Linked DNA regions of Homo sapiens: region 2 is linked to region 1. The links are contacts of gene promoters, found by promoter capture Hi-C in human tissues and cell types (Jung and others, 2019). All regions are on one chromosome and are shown on one strand. Each heading gives the region's core, a stretch centred on a gene start or on the middle of the fragment in contact. The rest is flanking DNA. Distances are from core to core; before and after follow the strand shown. Region 1 holds the start of SHANK1 (SH3 and multiple ankyrin repeat domains 1). Region 2 holds the start of EMC10 (ER membrane protein complex subunit 10).

The links. Contacts are between HindIII fragments. The study calls those that stand out against the background at their distance.
Region 2: a contact is called between the fragment with the promoter of EMC10 here and the fragment with the promoter of SHANK1 in region 1, in 1 of the 25 tissues and cell types used here (dorsolateral prefrontal cortex).

The regions. Positions count from the first base shown.
Region 1 is chr19:50,715,403-50,721,953 of GRCh38, reverse strand. SHANK1 (SH3 and multiple ankyrin repeat domains 1) reads left to right here and starts at 2,152. Exons shown (of 24, transcript NM_016148.5): 1 at 2,152-2,548; 2 at 4,992-5,289; 3 at 5,476-5,679; 4 at 6,224-6,295. The coding sequence starts at 5,035. The HindIII fragment of the contact is 4,964 bases long and covers 1-2,879 here.
Region 2 is chr19:50,472,246-50,478,796 of GRCh38, reverse strand. EMC10 (ER membrane protein complex subunit 10) reads right to left here and starts at 2,290. Exons shown (of 7, transcript NM_206538.4): 1 at 2,139-2,290; 2 at 796-868. The coding sequence starts at 2,252. It overlaps GARIN5A (golgi associated RAB2 interactor 5A), which reads left to right and starts at 1,949. Exons shown (of 5, transcript NM_001308429.2): 1 at 1,949-2,667; 2 at 2,864-2,964; 3 at 3,294-3,472. The coding sequence starts at 2,409. RefSeq lists enhancers at 2,086-2,285, 2,152-2,652. The HindIII fragment of the contact is 25,206 bases long and covers 1-6,551 here.

The DNA.
Region 1 (6,551 bases), core at 903-3,402:
ATAGTAGGTGTTCAATCAACCTGTTGAGTGGGCGAGAGGGTAGCCGTTCCTGGTGGGGTCAAAGGCCTGGAAGCTTCACCTCTTTGGTTTGCTGGCACCCAAGTTCCCAGGGTGGTGGTGGCAGGGTAGGTAGAGGTGGTGAGGGCAGTGGGAGAGAGGCTTGGAGGCAAGGAAGAACAATGCCATGCCATGCCCCTCTATGTCAGGCCCATGAGTCATGCAGGGCTTTTCCCGCCCAGGCCTGGCTGGTGGTGCCAACAAGCATGGGGCACACCAGCCAAGGATCACTGGGCCTGCTCTTCAAAGGAGGAGACCGAGGCTCTGAAACAGCATAGCCTGCTGGAGGTCACCAGTGTGGCGGCAGCTAGCCAAGGTTTCTGGCTCCAAGAGCAGGGCATCTGCCCTCGGCTGCCGGGAGCCCCAGGAGGGGCCTTGGAAATCAGTGCCTCCAGCCTTCCGTTTTCCAAGAAATCCTGGTACATCGAGGGCACTGTGACCTTGGGCAGACTGCTCCCTGCCTCAGAGCCTGGGCCTCTCAGGTGCCCATCGGGAACCTGGGGCCCCTCACCAGGAGCTACAGACCTCAAGAAATAATGCGTATGTGGGGAAAGGCCTTGTAAAGTGTGCAGGGGTGCACAGCCTCTCTGGCTGCTGGAGCCAACATGGGCAGCTGTGCTTTCCCCGGGCCCAGCTGCTCACCACCTGGGCTAGTGGGTACGCATCAAGATAGAGGCCTCCCCAGGCTGAGCAGGCACCTCCTCCAGCTCATACTCGGGTACCCCGGAGAGCCTGCAGCTGGAGGGGAACCCAGAAGCTGCCTAGAACTGCCCCCTGCAGGCCCTGGAGGTGCTGTTGGAGCTGGGAGAATGAGGAAGCCTGGGCTAAGGGGACACTCACCACTCACTGCTGCCCTGTGGGATCTGCTCTGTCCCTGTGGGTGCGTCCCAGGCATGAATGAGCTGTCTGCCTGCAGCTGGCTGCATATGCGTGCCTACACAGACATGTGCAAACTCTGAGGAGACGGTTGGGTGTGTCTGTGTGTGATGAATAAGGATATGCAACTATGAGGGGATATGCCCAGTAGTGCACCATAGTTGTCAAGTGAGGACTTTGGAGCCAGCCTACCTGTTCCTGATCCTTGTTACCACCTCCTTACAGCTGGATGACCTTGGGCAAGTTACTTAGCCTCTCTGTTCCTTGGTTTCCCCCTCTGGAAAATGGGGATGGCGAAAGTCCCTGAGCCTGGCACACAGAAAGTGCTCCAGGAATGTCAGCAGTAACTATCCTGGAGGGGAAGGATGGCACGGTGTTGGGCATGTAAACGGGTGAGTGCGAGCCAGTGCAATGGACAGCACGGTGGGTGGGTGTGATGGGAAGGCGTGCACACGTCTCTACAGTGCTGTAACTCCGTTTTGGTGTTGAGAGATCTGGGCATGCATACCGGGGTGAACGCCTGTGTGCGTGTGTGCGCGCGCACGTGCGTGTGTGGTGGGCAAATGTGTGCATGTGCTGCGTGTGTGCCCGGGCACAGGGGTGTGACAACTGCATGTAGCTGGGTGTGTTTGTAGCTGTGTACCCCAGGTGCATTGTGTCTGGGCATGCATGCGCTGGAGAGTGTGTGTATGTGGGGACTCTGCAGGTGCCGTTACAGCTGGTGACTATGCACCTGTGCCTTGGGGAAATGTGGCCTGGCCCAGGTATGTCCACGTGTGCCCTGACCCAGTGCTTAAATGGAAAGGGTGTGTGTGTGTTTGGGGGGACAGGGTGGGAATCTATAGCCTTCACACTTAAATTTGGGGGTGTAGAGTCTGGCAACAAATATTTATTGTGCCCCACTCTGTGTAGGGCGGCGGGGAGCTCTCTGGGAGGGGGTGGTCCTGAGGTGTGTGTGGGGGGGCACCTTATGGGGGCAGGACCCCTTCCTCGGGGTATGGGAGCAAGCAGGGGCGGAGTCAGGATTTGGGGACTCGGAGGTGGGGAGGAGTGGTGGGGGAGGGCAAGGGTAGGGGGCGGAGCCGGCGGTGGTGGGGGATGGGCGAGGTTTGGGGGCGCGGGGAGGGGCGATGTCTCCTCCGCCGGCTCCCGGAGGGAGGGGAGAGGGCGGAGGGAGGGGAGGGAGGGAGAGAGGGAGGGAGAGAGACAGGGTGAGGGAGAGACAGCGAGAGCGAGAGAGCGAGAAGGGTGGCAGAGGAGGCGCGGAGCGGGCGGCGGCGGCGGCGGCCCGAGGAAGAGGAGGAGGAAGAGCAGGCGGAGACGCGGCGCCCGGAGCCGGCCGGACCGAGCCGGGGGCGGGCGAGGAGGGGCGCGGCGGCCGCGGCGGAAGGGGGGGCGCTCTGCGGATGGCCAGGCCCGGCCCGCGGGGGGGGTGAGGTCCTCGGCCCTCCCGCCCTCCCCCCCGGTCCCCGCCCGCCCCCTCCCCGGGCCCGCTCGCCCTCCGGGGCGGTGGGGCATGGCCTGAGGGTCCCCGTCTCCGGGGGGGTGGGGGGTGGGGGGAGGGGGGAGGGGCCGCGGGCGCCGCCGACCGGGACTCAGCAGCCCCGCCAGGCAGGTAAGGGGGTCGAGAACCTGGGGGTTTGGGGCAGCTGCGGGGCCGGGGCCGCGGGAGGGGGCGAGGGCGCCCCGGATGTCCTTGGCCCGGCGCCGGGCTCCTGGCCTGGGTGTGCGGCTGGGGGTACGGGTGAGGTGGGGAGCGTTGCCCTGGGCGACACCAAATTGGGTTACGCCCGGGTCCCCGGTGCCCCGTCCCAGATCGCATCCTTGATGGGAGGGCGCGCCCCCCACCCCCGGCCAGCAGAGCCCCTATCCCGAACCCGCCTCCCGGCTCTCCGGGGCCAAGGGCTCGGTCCTGGTACCCGCCTCCCCGCCCAGCCCGGCCACTCCCCCGCCTCGCCCTCCCTGGCGTACCTGGGCCCCTCCGCCAGGTCACCCTGGTCCCCACTCCCCTCCAGCGAGGGTCTAGGCCCGGGCCTCCTCCGCCCCTTTCGACCCCTCCAGCTCCCGCTTCTCCTTCCAGGCTCCTCCAGTCCCTTTCCACCCCTGTCCAAGCTCCCTGCGTCCCCACCAGGTCTCCAGTCCCTACACCGCCGGCCGGCGCGCCCCCTCGGCTCCCGCCCCCGACTCCTGCTCCCCGGTGCCCCCCGCCCCTCTCCCCGGCCGGGTTCTCCCCCACCAGTTTCCCAGCCTCGGCTCCGGCTCTCTCTCCCCGCCCCTCCCCGCCTCCCTCCGCCTCCATTCATTCTCCCCGGCCCCGCTCTCGGCCACGCCAGCCGCCCCCTGTCCCCCCACAGCCTCCCAGGGCACCCCCTCTCTCGCGTCCTCCACCACCCCCCTCGCCGATTCCTCAGCCCGTCTCGGTACCAGCTGCGTGCCAGCTATTCTTAGCCGCGGAGCGTTTGATTCATGCCGCCCCGGCGGAGCGTGCCCGCTCCCTCCCGCGAGCCCTGAGGGGGAGGGGCCGGAGCCGGCCCGGGGGGGCTGGGGCAGCCGTACGCGCGGGGGGCCCTAGCCAGCTTTTCTTTCATCCCACCGGCCACCCCCTCCGAGCGGGGTTGAGGCTGGGGGTCAGCCAGGGTCAGCCGAGGGGGAGTGTCTGCGGGCCCCAGATCGCGAGGTGGGCTGTGCGGCGGGGCAGGGAGGAGGCAGCCGGGGTCTCCGCAGGGACGAGGTGGGGCGGCGTGGCTGGGTACCTGGAGGGGGAGGGGGCTTCGCAGCGCTGCCGCGCGTGGGGGAGGGGTCCGCCGGCCCTGGGTTAGAGGCTCGCTCGCCCACACCTCCTGGAACTCTCCTCCCACCACACACATTTAGTCTTCCCTTTCCCAACCCCCCAGCCCATCCCCACTCCCCCAAAGTCAGCAGTACCCTCCACTGCTTCCCATCTCCATGGCAACGGTGCAGGAACCGGGCCTGGTGTTGGGGGGAGGGACCAGACCAGACATTCTGGTTTCCGGTGCTGGGGTGGGAGTTGGGGGAGAACAGAAGGGAGGCGGACCCCATTTGGAAGGGGCTCCACCCTCATAAGGCCACCTCAAGGGAGAACAGCAAGGATCTAGAGATGATCCCCCACTCAGTTCCCCAGACCCTCCTCTCACTTCTTAGCCTCCCTCCTAACACCCCCAGTCCTCAGAGTGGAGCCCCTAGTACCCAGCAAGCCAGCCCACCCACCCTGCAGTCCTAGAAAAGAGCTACAGGTCATCTGCAGCCACCCACATCTACCCGGGCCACCACACCACTGTCACCTGGACAGCACTCCCCAGGCCGACCTCCCCACCTACCCGCACACCCTCTCAAGATGCCCCAGTCTCCAAAAGCCACCTCTTGTGGTTCCCTTGGGGACACCCTAGGCCAAATGCTCTGCCCATGACACCCCCATCTCAGTGCCCCTTGCTCCCCTGGGACGGCAGATTCCCCAGCACTATTCGGCATGCCACGCGTTGTCAGCCACACTTGAGTGAAGTCACCAGCTCCACCCGCTCCAGGCTCACCACACCTCCCTCTCCCCCTTACTACATCTCAGTGTCAGCCTCAGCTTCTCCCCAACCCCACCCCCCGGCCCTGGGATGAGGGGCCAGGCTGGGGCCAGGAGGGCAGGATGCCTGTCAGTTTGTCCACCTGTCTGTCCTTAGCTAATTTTAGCTGCATTTTCTGTGGCCTGGCAAAGTGGGCCAGTAGCTCCCGCGGTGATTCTGCGGTTTCTGGGACACGGCCACGCTGGGTCACCAGCAAAGTGGGGCGCAGGGGGCGGGCTGCAAGCGGGGCCAAGGGCAGGGAAGGAGACACATGCCAGAAGCATGTCAGGGACAGGGGTGTGTGCGTGCCAGCGTGGGAGGAGGCGGCAGGGGAGGCCGTGCAGGCCGAGGGTGTGTCCAGCCTCCTTCCTGCCTATCTTGGGCAGTGGGGGTAGGCTGCCCTTGACCGCTTGACCACCGAATAGCGCCTGCGGCCTCTGAGGGGTCCCGGGCTCCTAGTCTGATGGCCGCCCTTGGCCCCTGCAGCCGCCTGTGATGCTGCCGTCCCCCGTCGCCCCGTGGCCCCACAATGACCCACAGCCCCGCGACAAGCGAGGACGAGGAACGCCACAGTGCCAGCGAGTGTCCCGAGGGGGGCTCAGAGTCCGACAGCTCCCCAGACGGGCCAGGTCGAGGCCCCCGGGGGACCCGGGGCCAGGGCAGTGGGGCACCTGGTAGCCTGGCCTCTGTTAGAGGCCTCCAGGGCCGCTCAATGTCCGTCCCAGACGACGCCCACTTCAGCATGATGGTCTTCAGGATTGGCATCCCGGACCTGCACCAGACAGTGAGTACCTGCCCACTGGCCAGCGGCAGGAGAGGGACAGTGCCCCAACCGACATGGGGAGTCCACTGGTGCTGGGTATCCTCCCAGGAATCACCCCCACACTCAGCTCCTGGCTCACTTCCCAACCCACCTCAGGCTCTCCTCTGGCCCCTGGCCCACCCTAGCCCCTATCTCTTCCCCAACCAGAAATGCCTTCGCTTCAACCCCGATGCCACCATCTGGACGGCCAAGCAGCAGGTGCTCTGTGCCCTGAGCGAGAGCCTGCAGGATGTGCTCAACTATGGCCTGTTCCAACCGGCCACCTCCGGCCGCGATGCCAACTTCCTGGAGGAGGAGAGGCTGCTGCGGGAGTACCCCCAGTCCTTTGAGAAGGGGGTCCCCTACCTGGAGGTGAAGCTTCCCCAACTCCTTCACTGATAAGAGAAGGCATGCCCTAAAACACATCTGCCCCCCACCCACTTTTTAACACACTCGAAACCTTAACGAGGGGGCACCCAGTGTGCGAGTCCAGACCTTCTAAGCATCACAGGGAAGTCAGAGAGTCCTGAGTTCAAATTACCATCTGTTCTGCTTCTGACCAGCTAAGTGGCCTTGGCCAAGTCACTTTCCTGCCCCAAGCTTCTCCTCACCCATCAAATTGGGGGAGGATTCCCAATTACAGTAGGCACTCTAGAACATTCCCTGTGGGGTCCAGACTCCTCCTCCTTCAAGGCAGGGGTTGCAGTGCACATATACCATAATACCCAGCACTGTCGGAAAAGCCACTGCCACCCATCTACCGCCTAGACCAAGGTTCCAGGGCTGTTTTCACTCCCACCCTGAGCTACCCCGGGGAATTAGAAGGGGATCAGACCTTCCCCTACCCCAAGCCTTCTCCCCAGGCCCCTGATTCCAAGTCTCTGTGTCTCTCTCACTACCCTACCCTTGACCTCAGTTCCGATACAAGACCCGAGTTTACAAACAGACCAACCTGGATGAGAAGCAGCTGGCCAAGTTGCACACGAAGGTGAGAAAACCCTGCTGGCATCTATCCCCTATAGCCCCCTACCACTGGAGCCCCCTACCCAACCACTTTCTCTCCCCACCTCTTCCCAATAGACCTCCACATTCCCCAAGCCAGCGATCCCTCTGGCCACTGCCCCCGCTTAACTTGGGATGCTGTACCACATTTGAGACAACCACAAATACCCCCCATTATCCCCATCACAACCCCTTCTTACTTTCCTCTTTTGCCCTTCATCCCTCTGCCTGGGCCCACATCA
Region 2 (6,551 bases), core at 1,041-3,540, 240 kb after region 1:
ACCTCCACCATGTTCCACCTCACAAGGCAACCCGTAGCAGATGCATGAACCCCACAGCTCCCAAATCCTGCCTCTGCCTCACCAGGTGACCCAGGGATAGCCACACAACCTCTCTGAGCCTCAGCTTCCCCAACTGCAAAATACGGAGGCTGTGGAGTTCAGGAATTCCCAACTACCTGGCCATGTCAGAATCAGGGGAGCTGTTCACTGAGCAGATGCCAGGGTTTGCAGAGGGGCACCAGCTTCAGGGTTTGTGCCCTCAGGTTCGGGGCCTCAGACTCGATTACTACACTCTGGGCAGCACTGACGTCCAGCTCTGGGAACCTGGACACCTGCATCATGGCAATTTAAGTTTGGGTTTGAAGCTGGCCCCTGCTCTGCCACTCACTCACGATGAGACCTTGTGTGGTGCCTACTCTGAGCCCGTTTCCTCTTCTGGAAAAAGGGGCTGACACGAATACCTACCACCTCACATGGCTGCTGTGAGGACATCTGAGTTAATACTTGCAAAGCGTGGAACCGCTAATGCTGGGCACGTGGCGACTGATCAGGAAAGCCGCTCTGAAATTATTACTGCTGTGATGACCTTTTAAAAACTGAGGTTTGTCTCACAGGCAAGGGGGCATTTAAAGAGTGTTTCTCTTCTTTCATGTCCCACTTTCCCCTAACCTGAGGCAAATCTGTTAGTAAATGGTTGTTAGTAAATGTCATACGACGGGAGGCACCCAGACTCCAAGTCTTGACTTCTCAGGGCACCAATGTTAAGTGTCTAGGAGAGGACGTTGCCTGACTCACCGATCTCAAATGAGTGCTCCAGCAGCAGCCCCACCGTGCCACAGGCCTCGCCCTCTCGACCTTCCGCCCCAGCCTGCAGAGGACACAGAAGGCCCCAGGTGAGGACCACCCAAGCCCTCAGCATAGTAGTCACCCACAGAACCCAGGACAGACAGACTGGTGGGCTGAGGGAGGAGCCTTATCTTCAAGTTAATCACTGCTGCTTGCCTTTATTTCACTAGAAACCACCCATTTCATGAATATTCATACTCTGCACTCCCTCACCCCCAGAAAACCAGACCCTACAAACATGCCTAACCTCATTGCCAAAGCAACTATCCCAAGGTCACTTCCAAGCCTTGCGCCACAAATACTCATGAGTTAAATGACACTCTCCCTCTCCCAAGCCTTCTTTTTCATGCTAATATTCAAATGGCCTCCTTATCACCTGACAGCCCAATAGCCAAGATGCAGCCTGAGTTCAGTCCCTATTAAGCACATTCAAGATTCATGCTTTCCTTTTCTCCAACCTCCAAACTTGCATACTCACGCATATTTAGGAGACAAAACTCATCTCCACTTCCTCAAGAGCCCCCTCCCACGCCTTATTTTCTTTTTCTGAGACAGGGTCTCGCTCAGTCGCCCAGGCTGGAGTGCAGTAGCGTGATCTCAGCTCCCTGCAACCTCTGCCTCCTGGGTTCAAGCGATTCTCCTGCCTCAGCCTCCCGAGTAGTTGGAATTACAGGCACCTGCCACCACATCCAGCTAATTTTTGTGTTTTTAGTAGAGACGGGGTTTCACCATTTTGAGCAGGCTGGTCTTGAACTCCTGACTTCAAGTGGTCCGCCCGCCTCGGCTTCCCGAAGTGCTGGGATTACAAGCATGAGCCACCGCGACCGGCCTAATTTTTTTTTTTTTTTTAGTATTTTTTGTAGAGACAGGGCTCGCTATGTTGCCCAGGCTGGTCTTGAACTCCTGGCCTAGAGCAATCCTCCCGCCTCGGCCTCCCTAAGCGTTGGGATGACAGATGAGCCACCGCGCCCGGCTTCACCTTGCCTCTTTCATTTCAACCGCCCGGACGTCGGATTCTCCAAGATTCCACACCCCCAGCCCCGCCCCCTCATACATATTCCCGAGCCAGAGCCTTCCGACAGGTGCGCTTGTCCTCCCACCCAGTCCTTGCAACCCGGTGCACTGGCGAGGCCCCTCCTGCGCGTGCGTGACTGAGGCCTGGCTTTCCAGGGATCTCCCACCTCTTCCCTCTCAGCCCTGCGCAGCCTCCTTCCGTCTGTAACTCACCTAAAGACCCAAGACCTGCGACATCCGTAGACCGCGCCCGCTATGCACAGCTAAAGAGCACTCACCCCTCGCGCACCAGTCCCGGCCCGGCAGCCGCTGCCCCGGGCTCGACTGGGCGCTGCTACCGCCATCAGCAAGAGCAGGAGCAGCCGGGTTGCCCCAGCGCTGGCTGCCGCCATCTCGGCTTCTTCCCACCAGCGAAGGGACGGCTGTGAGCCAAGAGCCGCGGAGCACGCCGGGAGGAACAGGCCGCATCCTGACGCCCGTGCGCCTGCGCTGGGCCCCGGCACCTGCGCACTGGCACCCGTCCGCACCTGGGGCCTGACGTCAGCAGGATGGGGCCGCCCCTTTGGCCTGATCTCCAGGAGCCGCCCCCTCCAGGGACGTCATCACAAATCAGGAGCCCGCTCTTGTGTGACGTCATAAAGCCCGCTCCGCATCATGACGTCACAGTGCGCGTAGTCCCGCCCCCTCGCTTTCTCCCTCTGCTCCTCCGTCCGCTCCCGTCGGACGGGGACATTGCAATGAGGCGGGATCGCGGCCCTAAGCCGGCCCTGGGTGGAGCTGGCGAGGTGGAACCAGGTGGGATGGCAGGTGAGAGAGGGGAGCCAGGCCTAGAGGGGTTGGACCTGGTGAAGGAACCAAGTAGGATGGGGCCGGCAATTCGGGGGCATCTGATACCCCGTCCTCTCCGCGGGGCTGTGCCGGGCCCTCTCAGTTGGGAAGCCAGGCACAGCCTCCCAGGATCGACCCCCAGACTTCGTCCTGGTAAAATGCCTCCTGGTTGCAGCCTCTCCCACGGGCCGTCCCAGACGGCTCCAACGCTACCTCCAGAGCGGCGAATTCGACCAGTTTCGGGACTTCCCCATCTTTGAGAGCAACTTCGTACAGGTAGGGAGCCCCAGAACCCCCTCATCCCCAGCCTCGGCCTGCCCCTCGACCTCCTCCTGACTTGGAAAGCCCCTGCTCCCCCATAACGTCCATCTCGTGGGATTCCCGACTCCCAACTCCTATGTGATCTCTGACACCCCATACTTCTAGTTCTCTAGATTCTTTGTGAACCCTGGCCTGTAACTCCCTTGCCTCAGTTTCCCTGACTTCACACCCATATGATTCTTGAACTTTAATTTCAAGATATCTGGCCCCCAGCCTGATTTTCAACTCACCTGGTTCATGACCTTTTCCCCTACCAAGATTCCTAACCTCTGATCCCTCCTCAGTTCTGCCCCGACATCTATCCTGCCCCGACCTCTGACCTCTGGCCCCAGGTGACTCGGTTGGGAGAAGTTGCCAACGAGGTCACCATGGGGGTGGCAGCCTCCAGTCCAGCCCTGGAGCTCCCGGACCTATTGCTTCTGGCCGGCCCTGCCAAGGAGAACGGACACCTGCAACTCTTCGGGTAACTGCCCCCACCTCAGCCGAGACCCCTTCCTCCCTCAGCTCCAGGCACCTGAGCCCCCAGCAGTACCTCCCCTCGTCCAGACCACCCCCAGGGCCAGGAGCTGGCAGTGCTACCGGCCCTCCCTGAGCTGCCATCTACCCGGGAGAACAAGGACAGAGCAGCCCTCAGGGGCCAGAAATCAGAGATTAGACAGACCTGAAGGGGACAGTCCTCAGCCATGCCCCAGCAGCGGTCAGGAGAATGATCATTTCCGCAGGGCCTGCTCATGCCAGACGCCCCTAGGCCGCGCATACGATCTCACCTCTGACCTCATATCTTCACATGGTGGGGTCCCTTAGCCCCATCCGCCAAAGAGCTAAACTGAGGCTCAGAGAGCCGGGAGCCAGTTGCCCAGGGTCCCACTGTGGCTCCAGAGTGGGCCAGGATTGGAATGCCAAGCTTGTCATGATTGTGGATCTCATGGTTCTTGAGCCCTCCTGTGCCTCACTCCACACTGCCCCTTTACGTCATATTTTTTCATTGAAAAAGTAATGCAGATCGGGTGCGGTGGCCCACACCTGTAATCCCAGCACTTTGGGAGGCCAAGGCAGGCAGATCATTTGAGGCCAGGAATTTGAGACCGGTCTGGCCAACATAGCAAAACCCTGTCTCTACCAGAAATACAAAAAATTAGCCAGGGCCGGGTGCGGTGGCTCACGCTTGTAATCCCAGCACTTTGGGAGGCTGAGGTGGGTGGATCACGAGGTCAAGAGAACGAGACCATCCTGGCTAACACAGTGAAACCCCGTCTCTACTAAAAATACAAAAAATTAGTCGGGCGTGGTGGTGAGCGCCTGTAGTCCCAGCTACTCGGGAGGCTGAGGCAGGAGAATGGCGTGAACCCAGGAGGCGGAGGTTGCAGTGAGCTGAGATTGCGCCACTGCACTCCAGCCTGGGCGACAGAGCGAGACTCCATCTCAAAAAAAAAAAAAAAAATTAGCCAGGTGTGGTGGCGGGCGCCGGTAATCCCAGCTACTCGGGAGGCTGAGGCAGGAGAATTGCTTGAACCCAAGAGGTGGAGGTTGCAGTGAGCCGAGATCATCCCACTGCACTCCAACCTGGGTAACAGAATGAGTGAGACTCTGTCTCAAAAAAAAAAAGAGAGAATAAAAAAGAAAAGAAAAGAGAAAAGAAAAAGTAATGCAAACAAACGAGAAAACAAGCACAAAATAGACAGCAGAAGCTGTTCCTTTTTCTCACCCAAGGCTCCTGCCCCAACTCCAGCTACAAACACTGAAATGTTTACATGCCTACAGTACAGAAACATTCTGCCAGTAGCTTTCACTTTTTTTGTTGTTTGTTTTTTTGAGACAGAGTCTCCAGGCTGGAGTGCAGTGGCACAACCTCGGCTCACTGCAACCTCTGCCTCCTGGGTTCAAGCAATTCTCCTGCCTCAGCCTCCTGAGTAGCTGGGATTACAGGAGCCTGCCACCACGCCCAGCTAATTTTTGTATTTTTAGTAGAGACGGGGTTTCACCATGTTGGCCAGGCTGGTCTCGAACTCCTGACCTCAGGTGATCTGCCTGCCTGGGCCTCCCAAAGTGCTGGGATTACAGGCATGAGCTACCATGCCTGTCTGGCTTTCACTTTTTTGACCACATCTCACAGTTCATGAAAGAGAGATGCCGGGTATGGTGACTCATGCCTGTAATCCCAGCACTTTGGGAGGCTGAGGTGGGAGGATTACTTCAGGCTTGGAGTTCAAGACCAGCCTGGGCAACATAGCAAGACCCCCATCTCTACAAAAATCAAAATTACAAAGCTAGCCAGGTATGGTGACACATACATGTGGTCCTAGCTACTGGGGCTGAGCCAGGAGGATCACTTGAGCCCAGGAGTTCGAGGCTGCAGTGAACTGTGATCACACCACTGCACTCCAGCCTGGGCAATGAAGTGAGACCCGTTCTCTAAAAAAGAAAGAAAGAGAGGGAAGAAAGAAGACAGAGAAAAGAAGAAAGGGAAGAAAGTAAGGAGGGAGAAATAGAGGAAGGAGGGAAGGAAGGAAGGACAAACTCACATTGTCTCACACATGCACACATGAAGGTCCACAGTTCCTTCTCTGCATTTCTGAAATCCAAAAGATTGCTTTTCTAATTTCGTGGCCAAATCAGATTTTGACCTGCATGTACTCGAGATGACTTACAGCCTTTATTAATCCCCCTGCCTAAGTTAAAAACCTTTCACAAAGGAGTATTCTGACACCAGTACAGTACCCTGAGATATTTTCTCTTCTACACTATACCTTTATTTTTGTTTATGTGTTGTAGAGGTGGGATCTCACTATGTTGCCCAGGCTGGTCTTGAACTCCGGGCCTCAAGTGATCCTCCCACCTCAGCCTCCCAAAGCACTAGGATTACAGGCATGAGCCACTGTGCCTGGCCTTTATTTATTCATTCATTCATTTAATTTTGAGACAGGGTCTCACTCTGTCATCCAGGCTGGAGTGATCACAGTTCTCTGCAGGCGCAAGCGATCCTCCCACCTCAGCTGCCTGAGTAGCTGGGACTACAGGTGTGCACCACCCACACCTGGCTAATTTTTGTATTTTTTTGTAGAGACAGGTCTCACCATGCTGCCCAAGCTGGTCTCGAACTCCTGGGCTCAAGCAATCCTCCTCCCTCAACCTCCCAAAGTGCTGGGACTATACGTGTGACCCACCTTGCCCAGCCCCTTTTATTTTAAATGCTAACTGTATTTCACCAATTGATCTCATCACTCACTGAATCATGACCTGCAGTTGGAAGAACACCAATGATGGTGCTGAGAGTGGCTATGACCCTCTCATAAGCTCCTTTGGCACCCTAAAACCCCTTCCCAAATGAACATACCACTGAAGTGAGAACATTGAGCTTGCTCTGCAAATTTGGCCTCAGGACTCACCTCCTAGCCCCTCACTTCTGTCTAACCAACTTCCAGCCCTGAGCTATTCTGGGGCAGTTTCTGACAGAGAGATATATATATACACACATACATGTATATATACATATATACACACATACATGTATATATACATATATACACACATACATGTATATA